Regions from separate parts of the Homo sapiens genome. Here regions 1 and 2 are each linked to region 3. Evidence: promoter capture Hi-C in 16 types of primary human blood cells and fetal thymus (Javierre and others, 2016). All regions are on one chromosome and are shown on one strand. Each heading gives the region's core, a stretch centred on a gene start or on the middle of the fragment in contact. The rest is flanking DNA. Distances are from core to core; before and after follow the strand shown. Region 1 overlaps AIDA (axin interactor, dorsalization associated). Region 2 overlaps DISP1 (dispatched RND transporter family member 1). Region 3 holds the start of FAM177B (family with sequence similarity 177 member B).

The links. Contacts are between HindIII fragments. The CHiCAGO score rates a contact against its expected background, and 5 or more counts as called.
Region 1: a contact is called between a fragment that was not itself captured here and the fragment with the promoter of FAM177B in region 3, in 1 of 17 cell types (neutrophils). The highest score is 5.6, in neutrophils.
Region 2: a contact is called between a fragment that was not itself captured here and the fragment with the promoter of FAM177B in region 3, in 2 of 17 cell types (total B cells and naive B cells). The highest score is 6.2, in total B cells.

What each region holds. Positions count from the first base shown.
Region 1 is chr1:222,670,567-222,673,266 of GRCh38, reverse strand. The region is part of intron 8 of AIDA (axin interactor, dorsalization associated); the gene reads left to right. Among named protein-coding and RNA genes, the nearest start is that of AIDA, 41 kb to the left of the region's middle. The HindIII fragment of the contact is 4,852 bases long and covers 1-2,700 here.
Region 2 is chr1:222,826,355-222,829,054 of GRCh38, reverse strand. The region is part of intron 1 of DISP1 (dispatched RND transporter family member 1); the gene reads right to left. Among named protein-coding and RNA genes, the nearest start is that of DISP1, 13 kb to the right of the region's middle. The HindIII fragment of the contact is 376 bases long and covers 1,208-1,583 here.
Region 3 is chr1:222,735,905-222,738,604 of GRCh38, reverse strand. FAM177B (family with sequence similarity 177 member B) reads right to left here and starts at 1,403. Exons shown (of 6, transcript NM_001394345.1): 1 at 1,283-1,403; 2 at 584-701. RefSeq lists an enhancer at 1,620-2,161. The HindIII fragment of the contact is 3,071 bases long and covers 1-2,451 here.

The DNA of each region.
Region 1 (2,700 bases), core at 123-2,622, 65 kb after region 3:
ATCTTATTTGTGTTTGTACATATGGTGGACCTAGCATAGTTAGTATCTGGCAGAAGTAAATGTAACATAGTGTTTATTGATTTGAATAAATATACATATTTTTAAAATGTAGAAATTAGGAATTGTGTTATCTACTTGTCTAATAGCACTGTTATATAGTAAAACAATCTTTGATAATAAAATTTTATTGTCTTTACCAACAAAACAAAGTTTTTCACACACTAAAGGGCTGGGAGAAGCAGGAGTGCGTGAAGGTTCCCTGATGATTCAGTTTTCATCTTCAAATTAAGAACCAGGGTTTTCTCCCAGTATTTCTAGTTTGGTAGAACGATAACTTAACTTGCAGTTAATTGTTAGGAAATAGGAAAGGACAAAAGCAAATTTTTGAAATAGTGAGGCTACATTTCCAAGTATGATTCTTAGTATTAAATACTTCCCCATGCTTTTCGCCCAGTGGAAATTTGAGTGTTCTCCAAAAAGGTGACTTCAGAATCCCTTTATCACCTGAGGGTTCAGTTGCAGTTTCTGAAATGTTCAAGCTCTGTAGGATATTCAAGTCCCTTTTGAAGTGATTGCCTCGGCGTCTGAAATATTCGATATTTCACTTCTCAAGTCTGGTGCTGCTGCCTCCTCTGTTCCCCCACTAAAAGACCTTTCAGTGCTTCTGTTAGAACAGTGGTTCTCAGAGTATGATTCCTGGAACAGGAGCAGCACCTGGAGCCTTCTTAGGTGGCCACCCCAGACATCCTGAATCCGAAACCATGGGGATGGGCCTAGCAGTCTGTTTTAGGAAGCCCTCTAGGTGATTCTGACATACACCAAAGCTCCAGAGTCACTGTGTTAGAAGACTATGTATGTAGGAGGTGCTTAATAAATAACGTTGAAGAAATTTCAGTTACAAAGTATGTCTTCTGAACAAAACTATTGATTTGTTTCATTTCTTTAACTCCATTGCCTTAGGAAATGTTTGTGATGTGGACGGGAGAAGGTGGAGTGTTTCATGGGCTAACTTTTCTATTTTATTACACTGTGTTCTTTCTTAATGGCTCGACTCACTAGATAATAAAAGTAGAACTAGATTCAAAATTTGACTCTATTAATTTTTTCCAGCTTCAAACTTACTGTTTACTGTTACTGTAGTTTTAACTGATATTAGTGTTAATGACCATACTTTCATGTTTACAAACATTTTAACTTAATCTTCCCAGGATATTCCTGTTTCACATTTTGTTCTTTCTTATAAAAAGCATGATGAAGGATGCAGGAAATATATTATTTACAGGTGATACAGATTAATAATTTGTTTAACTTCCTCAAAATGATGGTAACATATTTGAACTTTAGTATTGTTTTGAAACGTGACTTTATCATTCACATTTATTCAGACCTCAAGACACGATCATGAGGAGGAGATGGGTTTCCTAGCAGAAAAGACTCTGCTGTCTTTAAAATCTTTGGTTTTCTAATGACAAAATGCCTCTGAGTGCTGTGGGAGGGAGAAGAGAAGCCACCATTTGTGGAAATGACAAGGTCACACACCTAGGGAAGAGATGTTACCAGTAACCTAACTATTGTAATCCTTTCGAGCGTGTTGGGAGTGGATGGCCAAATATGCCCATCTCTCCCTCACCCACATCCCATTGTCTCCTGAGCAATTGGTTTTTTTTTCCTCCCTTGCCATGTGATGTGGTCCATTTGGACCCAAGTGCCAATGCTGTACACACATTTCTGAACATTGCTAAACTTCTAGTGACTTGTGAGTTTTGTCATCAGCGGCAGTATTAAATGTATGTTGTCTTTGCAAGCCAAGCTCCTGGACTGCTCTGGTTAAGGCAGTATTTAGAAGTAGCTGGTGAAGAGTGAGACACTGACTTCCTTCACTTTCCATGCCTTCTTTAGAAATTCATTTTTGTTGGCCACATTGATGAGGCAACTTATTTCTCCATTTTTAGCTTTTTTCTGCAGGATTGGGGGAAGAGTTTATCTGTTGGACTTTGGGGACATAGGACCGTCTAAATTTCTTATTTTTTTCTTTTTTTGAGACAGAGTCTCACTTTGTCACACAGGCTGGGGCACAGTGGCATGATCATGGCTCACTGCAGCCTCAATCTCCCTGGGCTCAGGCAGTCCTACCAACTCAGCCTCCCGAGTAGCTGGGAGTACAGGCACGTGCCACCGAGCCTGGCTATTTTTAAAATTTTTTTTGTAGAGGTGGGGTCTTACCACCCCCTTGTTGCCCAGGCTGGTCTCAAACTCCTGGGCTCAAGTGATCTGCCCATCTCTGCCTCCCAAAGTGCTGGGATTACAGGCATGAGCCACCGCACCCGGCCAGAACTGTCTAAATTTCTCATTATCACTTGCTCATTGGAGGAGAGTGGCAGAATAAATAGATTTGCTCTTTGAACCTTTGTCTTCTACAGCACTGTCTTGACACAAACATGCAATTCCAGGAAAAACATCACAGCAGTGCTTTGAATACTGAAAAAGGTGTTAAGGAAACAGATAACATTTTCCAGCTGAGCCAGCATGTGATTTATGTTGTTTGAATTCCAAAATACCCCCAAGATTGAATTTTTGAGTTTTTGTTTTGGGGTAAGGGAAACAATTCGAGCTTAAATTTTTTTAGGAACTCTTTTAAATGCATTTTCTACCTAATGAGTCTCTATGTGTATTGAAGTATCTTCTCTGTTCTTCTGTGGC
Region 2 (2,700 bases), core at 146-2,645, 90 kb before region 3:
TTATTTCTTATGACTCTAAATGAAAGAGTTTCATCAGTTTCTAGGAACTTATTTTAAAATAAATTTAAAAACATCCTCTACCCATCCCCCAGCCCACATGTTCAATACAAAATACTCCCATGAAGCACAATGACAATGTGGACTTTTATTTCTGGCAATGCAGCCCCATGGCTGGAGATCACCAAAAATTGTTGTATTTAAGTACTTAAAATTTTTTTTTAATGTATAGAAGAGCCAACAATAAAGTAAGAGAAATGCTCCAAGGGCAGAAATAATTTTTTAAAAAGTACAAGTCTAGAGAGGTGAGTTAGTGCTAAAGCGAATGTGCCCCTGGGGAATCTACATATTCCTGGTGGAATGAACCTGATGGGGAGGGGAGCTATAGAAAATAGGGTAATAGGCAGCAAAACTTGAGGGCCTGTACGAAATGGAGAGCCTGAGCAAAGACCATCTCACATAAAGCTCCTGAGGGAGTAAATTAAAAAACATTTCAGCTTACAATCGATACACATGAAGGAATGGTCAAGGGAAAAAAGGTTAAATGCATATGGGTAAATATAAACACTGTTATTTCTGGGGCTGAAAGATCAAGTCCCAAAACTATAATGTCTGATAAAAATAGTTCTTATCAGAAGGAGGTTCAGGAGAAGGATAAAGATTGCATTTACATTTATTTAGACTTTGTTAAGTATGCATATTAACATTTCTACGGTAACCATAGAGAAAAAAAGAAATAGAACAGAAAACTTCCAACACAGTTCAAAGGGGGGAAAATGGAATAAAAAACAAACAAACAAAAGATAAGTAGAAAGCATATGATATGGCAGAAAGAATTTAGGTCTTGGAGTCAGATATTCTGGGCATAAATCACAATTCTGCATATATTTCTTCTAACCACAGACAAGTCACCTGCTTTTAAAATTTCAGTTTCCTCATCTTTAAAAGAGGAATAATAATACAAACTTTTTAGCCTAGTATTTGAGTTAACATGCAAGTACACTATACCTAGTACAGTCTTCAAACAAAGATGCACAGACACCTTTTCCCGTCCTCTTCATTTCATGACACTGAAGTATGCTCAACCAGTGAGGAGGTCATTCTTTTAGGCTGCTGGATCAGACTATTTTCAGCTTGAGTATCACAACTATTACATAGAATTTTTCCTTGACTTTCTGTGTATTCCTTCCTTATTCAGGATTAAAAAGCTTCTAAATCAAATTATATGTAGTATCTCAAGTTTATTTTCCCTAAACTTTGCTTAAATATGTTTAGATTTTCACAAGATTAAGTTAAATCTAATGCAAATGCCCCTTCCACAGCAAAATGCCACGATTAACAATGCATATAAAATAAAACCCAGTTGTTGCTTTTTAGATAGCTAACTACCCCTGACCTCAGTTCTAGAAATAAAAAATGATTATTAATTATATAAATTTAAAGATGTATAACTTACCTGTTAATTAAAATTTGTCAAAGAATGAGCATGTAATACCAAAATTTGATAAAATAACATCTTGTTGCATGAAGATTATTTCGTGAGTTTAGAAATTGTACTCCCAAAATTAAAGTGTTCAGTAAAAGCTTAGTAAGTCAAGTATTCCCAGTAACAGTGTTATAAAAGTTGACTCTAAGAACAAAAAAAGTGAAAAATTTAATTCAATAACCCACATATGGATGATCCATGCCCCTACCCCTTTTTATAATTCTCCAAGGCCAATTTTAAATTCTGAGTGGAATTTTTCTCTTCAACACAGGATGTTTCCAGAATTCCACCATCTGTACATTTACAGAATAAAAATTATGTATCTAAGACAAACTTCAAATGGCAAATCTGTTCCTCAAATTATAATATAATCCAAAAGAAGTACTGTACATGCTTTAACTGTTTGTCTCTACCGGTACAGAAGACTAACTTTACAGCATATATGCCAAGAACTCATCAAGGTGACATAATCCTTTTACCTGAAATAAAAATGCTAAAGGCAGAAAACGTCTTGTGAGAAACCAACTGACAACCACTAAAACTAAAGATGAAAGTTTTATTAGAATAGAAATGGAAAACCTTGCAATATATACACATACTCTAATAGAAAATAACATGGGGGAATGTTATATGTAGAAATCTTAAATAGGGGCTGTATTATTTATGAAACAGGAGGCATCAGCTTTATAGTAAAGGAGTTAAGAGCTAAAACTCTGAAGTCAGATTGTCCAAATTCAACGGTTAAAGAAATTACATTTTAGTTAGTAGCTCCCTGATAGGAGTGGATAATTTTAATATCCATCACACAGCATTCAGCAGATATATAATAATGTAAAGACCAATACCAAACAACCACAAATCATTAAAAAATTCTTAAAGTGTAGGCCAGGTCTGGTGGCTCATGTCTATAAATACCAGGACTTTGGGAGGCTGAGGCAGGAGGCTCGTTTGACCCAGGAGTTTGAGACCAGCCTGGGCAACATAGTAGAACCCCATCTCTGTAAGAAGTTAAAAAACAAAAAAATTAGCTGAGCATGGTGGCACACACCTGTAGTCCCAGCTACTCAGGAGGCTGAGGCAAGAGGATCACTCGAGCCCAGGAGGTTGAAGCTGCAGTGAGCTGTAATCATGCCACTGCACTCCAGCCCAGGTGACAGAGTGAGACCCTGTCTCAAAAAAAAAAAAAAAAAAAAAGTATTAAAGTGTAAAGGAGACTA
Region 3 (2,700 bases), core at 154-2,653:
AGGCACGTGCCACACGCCCAGCCTTTTTTTTTTTTTTTTTGCAGTTTTTGTAGAGACGGAGTCTCCCTATATTGCCCAGGCTGGTCTTGAACTTCTGGACTCAAGCGATCCTCCTGCCTCAGCCTCCCAAAGTGCTGGGATTACAGGCATGAGCCACTGCGCCCGGCTCAGTTTAATTCTTGGGAGCACCTCTACCTTTTGTTTCTTAAAAACCCCAAATACAGACTATGAAGGATAGTTCCTAAGTATATAATGTAATTAACAGGCCATATAATCTCTCTGACCTTTTAAATATTGTATTACCCCAGGGCTCAGTGATTGGACCTCTTCTCTTTCCTATCTGCTTTCTTGATGATCTCCTTTGGCCCTGTGGCTTTCAATACTATCCACACACAGATGATTGTAACATTTATATTCTCCAGGTCAGACTTTTTCCCTGAGTCTCACAGATCCAACTACCTGCTTGACATCTCTTCTTAGTTGTCTAATGGACATCTCAATCCTAATTTGTCTAAATCTTTGCTCATGCTTTCAGTGCAACTCTCCCTCCATCCCCCCAACACACACATACTCACACATTTACCTCTACTCTTCTGGCAGCCTTCTCATCTCAATAAATGGCAACTCTGTTCTTCCAGTTGCTCAGGCCAACAACACTAAAGTCATTCTTGGTTCTTCTTTAATCACACCTCACATCAAATCTGCCAGGAAATTGTCTTGGATATTTCTGGAATCATACTTTTCATTACTCCACTGCTACCACCCTGGTCTATCATCTCTCACCCTTGCCGTCGTCTCTCACCTAGATTATTGCAGCAGCCTCCTAATTGGCCCCCTCCAGTCTACGCTCGAAAAGGAGCCAGAATTGTTAAATCCTAAGTGAGACCATGTCATGTCTTTGCTTAAAACTCTCCAGTGGGTTCCCGTCTCACCTAGAGTAAAAGCCAAACTCCTCATAATGGCCTACAAGGCTGTATACCTAACCCCTACGAGCTTTCTGACGCCATCTTGTACTACTCTCCCACCACTGACATCACTCTAACCCCACGGGCCTTCTTCCTGCAATTCCCTGACCACACAGGTCCGCCCTCTCTCTCTGCAGAGAGCTCTCTGCTGGCTGCTCTATTAGTCTTTCTTTCCTTAGACTGTTTCCTTGCTCATTTCCAGTCTTTAACTCAAATGGAGACTACACTGAGCTCCGCTTTCAAGGCAACCTCCCATTGCCTTCACCACCACCCTCTGCATCTTACCTCCTGTTTCATTTTTTCTCCTTAGCACTTACCAACACTGAACACTCCATATTCCACCTGTCTCTGTCTTCCCTTTCCTCCCTGTCCTGCCCCTTGGCAGAGGGGGAGGGTTTTACCTGTTATGTTCACTGCTGTATCTTCTGCCCCTATGATGCCTTACACGTAGCTGGAACTCAGTATTTGTTTAACAAATGAATCATACATTTAGTTAAGGTTAATGGGTGGGAGGAGTTATATAACAGATTGGAAAAATAAGAACAGACTTGTAACTGTCTTTATTTCCTGCTTTAGAAATTACTATCTTCATTTAATATTTTTCTGATTACATCTATCTACTAATCATTTCAATTAGCTCCTTCACTGAAACACAGCATTGTAATCTGTACCAAGAAAATAACACACTAGTTCTACATCTTGGCATTTAACTTCAATAAGTAAATATACTATTTTAAGTATGTAACACTTAAACATTTTCTAGAGCTCTTTCCATTTTCATTTATCTAGAAAATGTTTTCAAATGGACTGTTAAAATTCAGCTAAGAACTGATGTTGGGTCATTACGCTGGAGCTAATTAGCATTGCTTGCCTGGAGCTGCTGGTCCCCCTTCCTGCTTCCACCTTTCCTTTTTTCTGAGGTGGTTGAAAGGTCAAACCCCTGGTGAGAGGAGAGAACCAAAGCCCCACTGCGTGCCTCAGATGCAGAGTTTCACAGCGTGGTATTCACTGGGTATTCACCGACATTTCTCTAGGCCCCTTCACCTGAAGGAACTGGCCTGCTCCAATCAGTGACTTGCAGTGTGTGTGTCAGGGGCAAGGATAGAGTGAGGAAAAATGTGAAATAACAAATCACTGCCGCTCCTTGAGAATTACAGGAGCATCACCTGGCAGGATTTTTGTATCCTTATTTTCAGTATTAAACCACATACATGCACCCCACTGCCTGCATGCCTGTCCATGCCTGTCCCACTGTGGTGTTTCACAGCATTTTTTACATCATGGCAGATAGAGAAAATTAGTTGTTTGGAATTCTGGAGGCGACCAGCCTGGGAGCTCCAGCCACCTTAAGTGCTGCCCAGCTAGACACCCAGAAGGCTTCGATCAATAGCTTGAGACAAACTACTTGAGAAGCTCTGCATTAGAGAAGCAAATTCAAGTCTTGACATTTTCTCAGGGGAGTGCTCTGAAAGTGACTATATAAGCTTCTACCGACCTCAAGCAAATCACAGGCATTAGATACATTAAATTGCTGAAGTGATAGCTCTGGCTTTTTGGATATGCACAATCAAATATAGTTTTCTGTTTTATAATTTGTCAACTCCCCTTCCAGATTAACTATTTTGATCCCTTTATTACTATAACATTCTTAAATATTTAAATTTTAAGCAAATTATTCAAATGTCAAATAAAATCTTTAGATACAAACTTATGGTAACCCAAAGTGACATTCCAA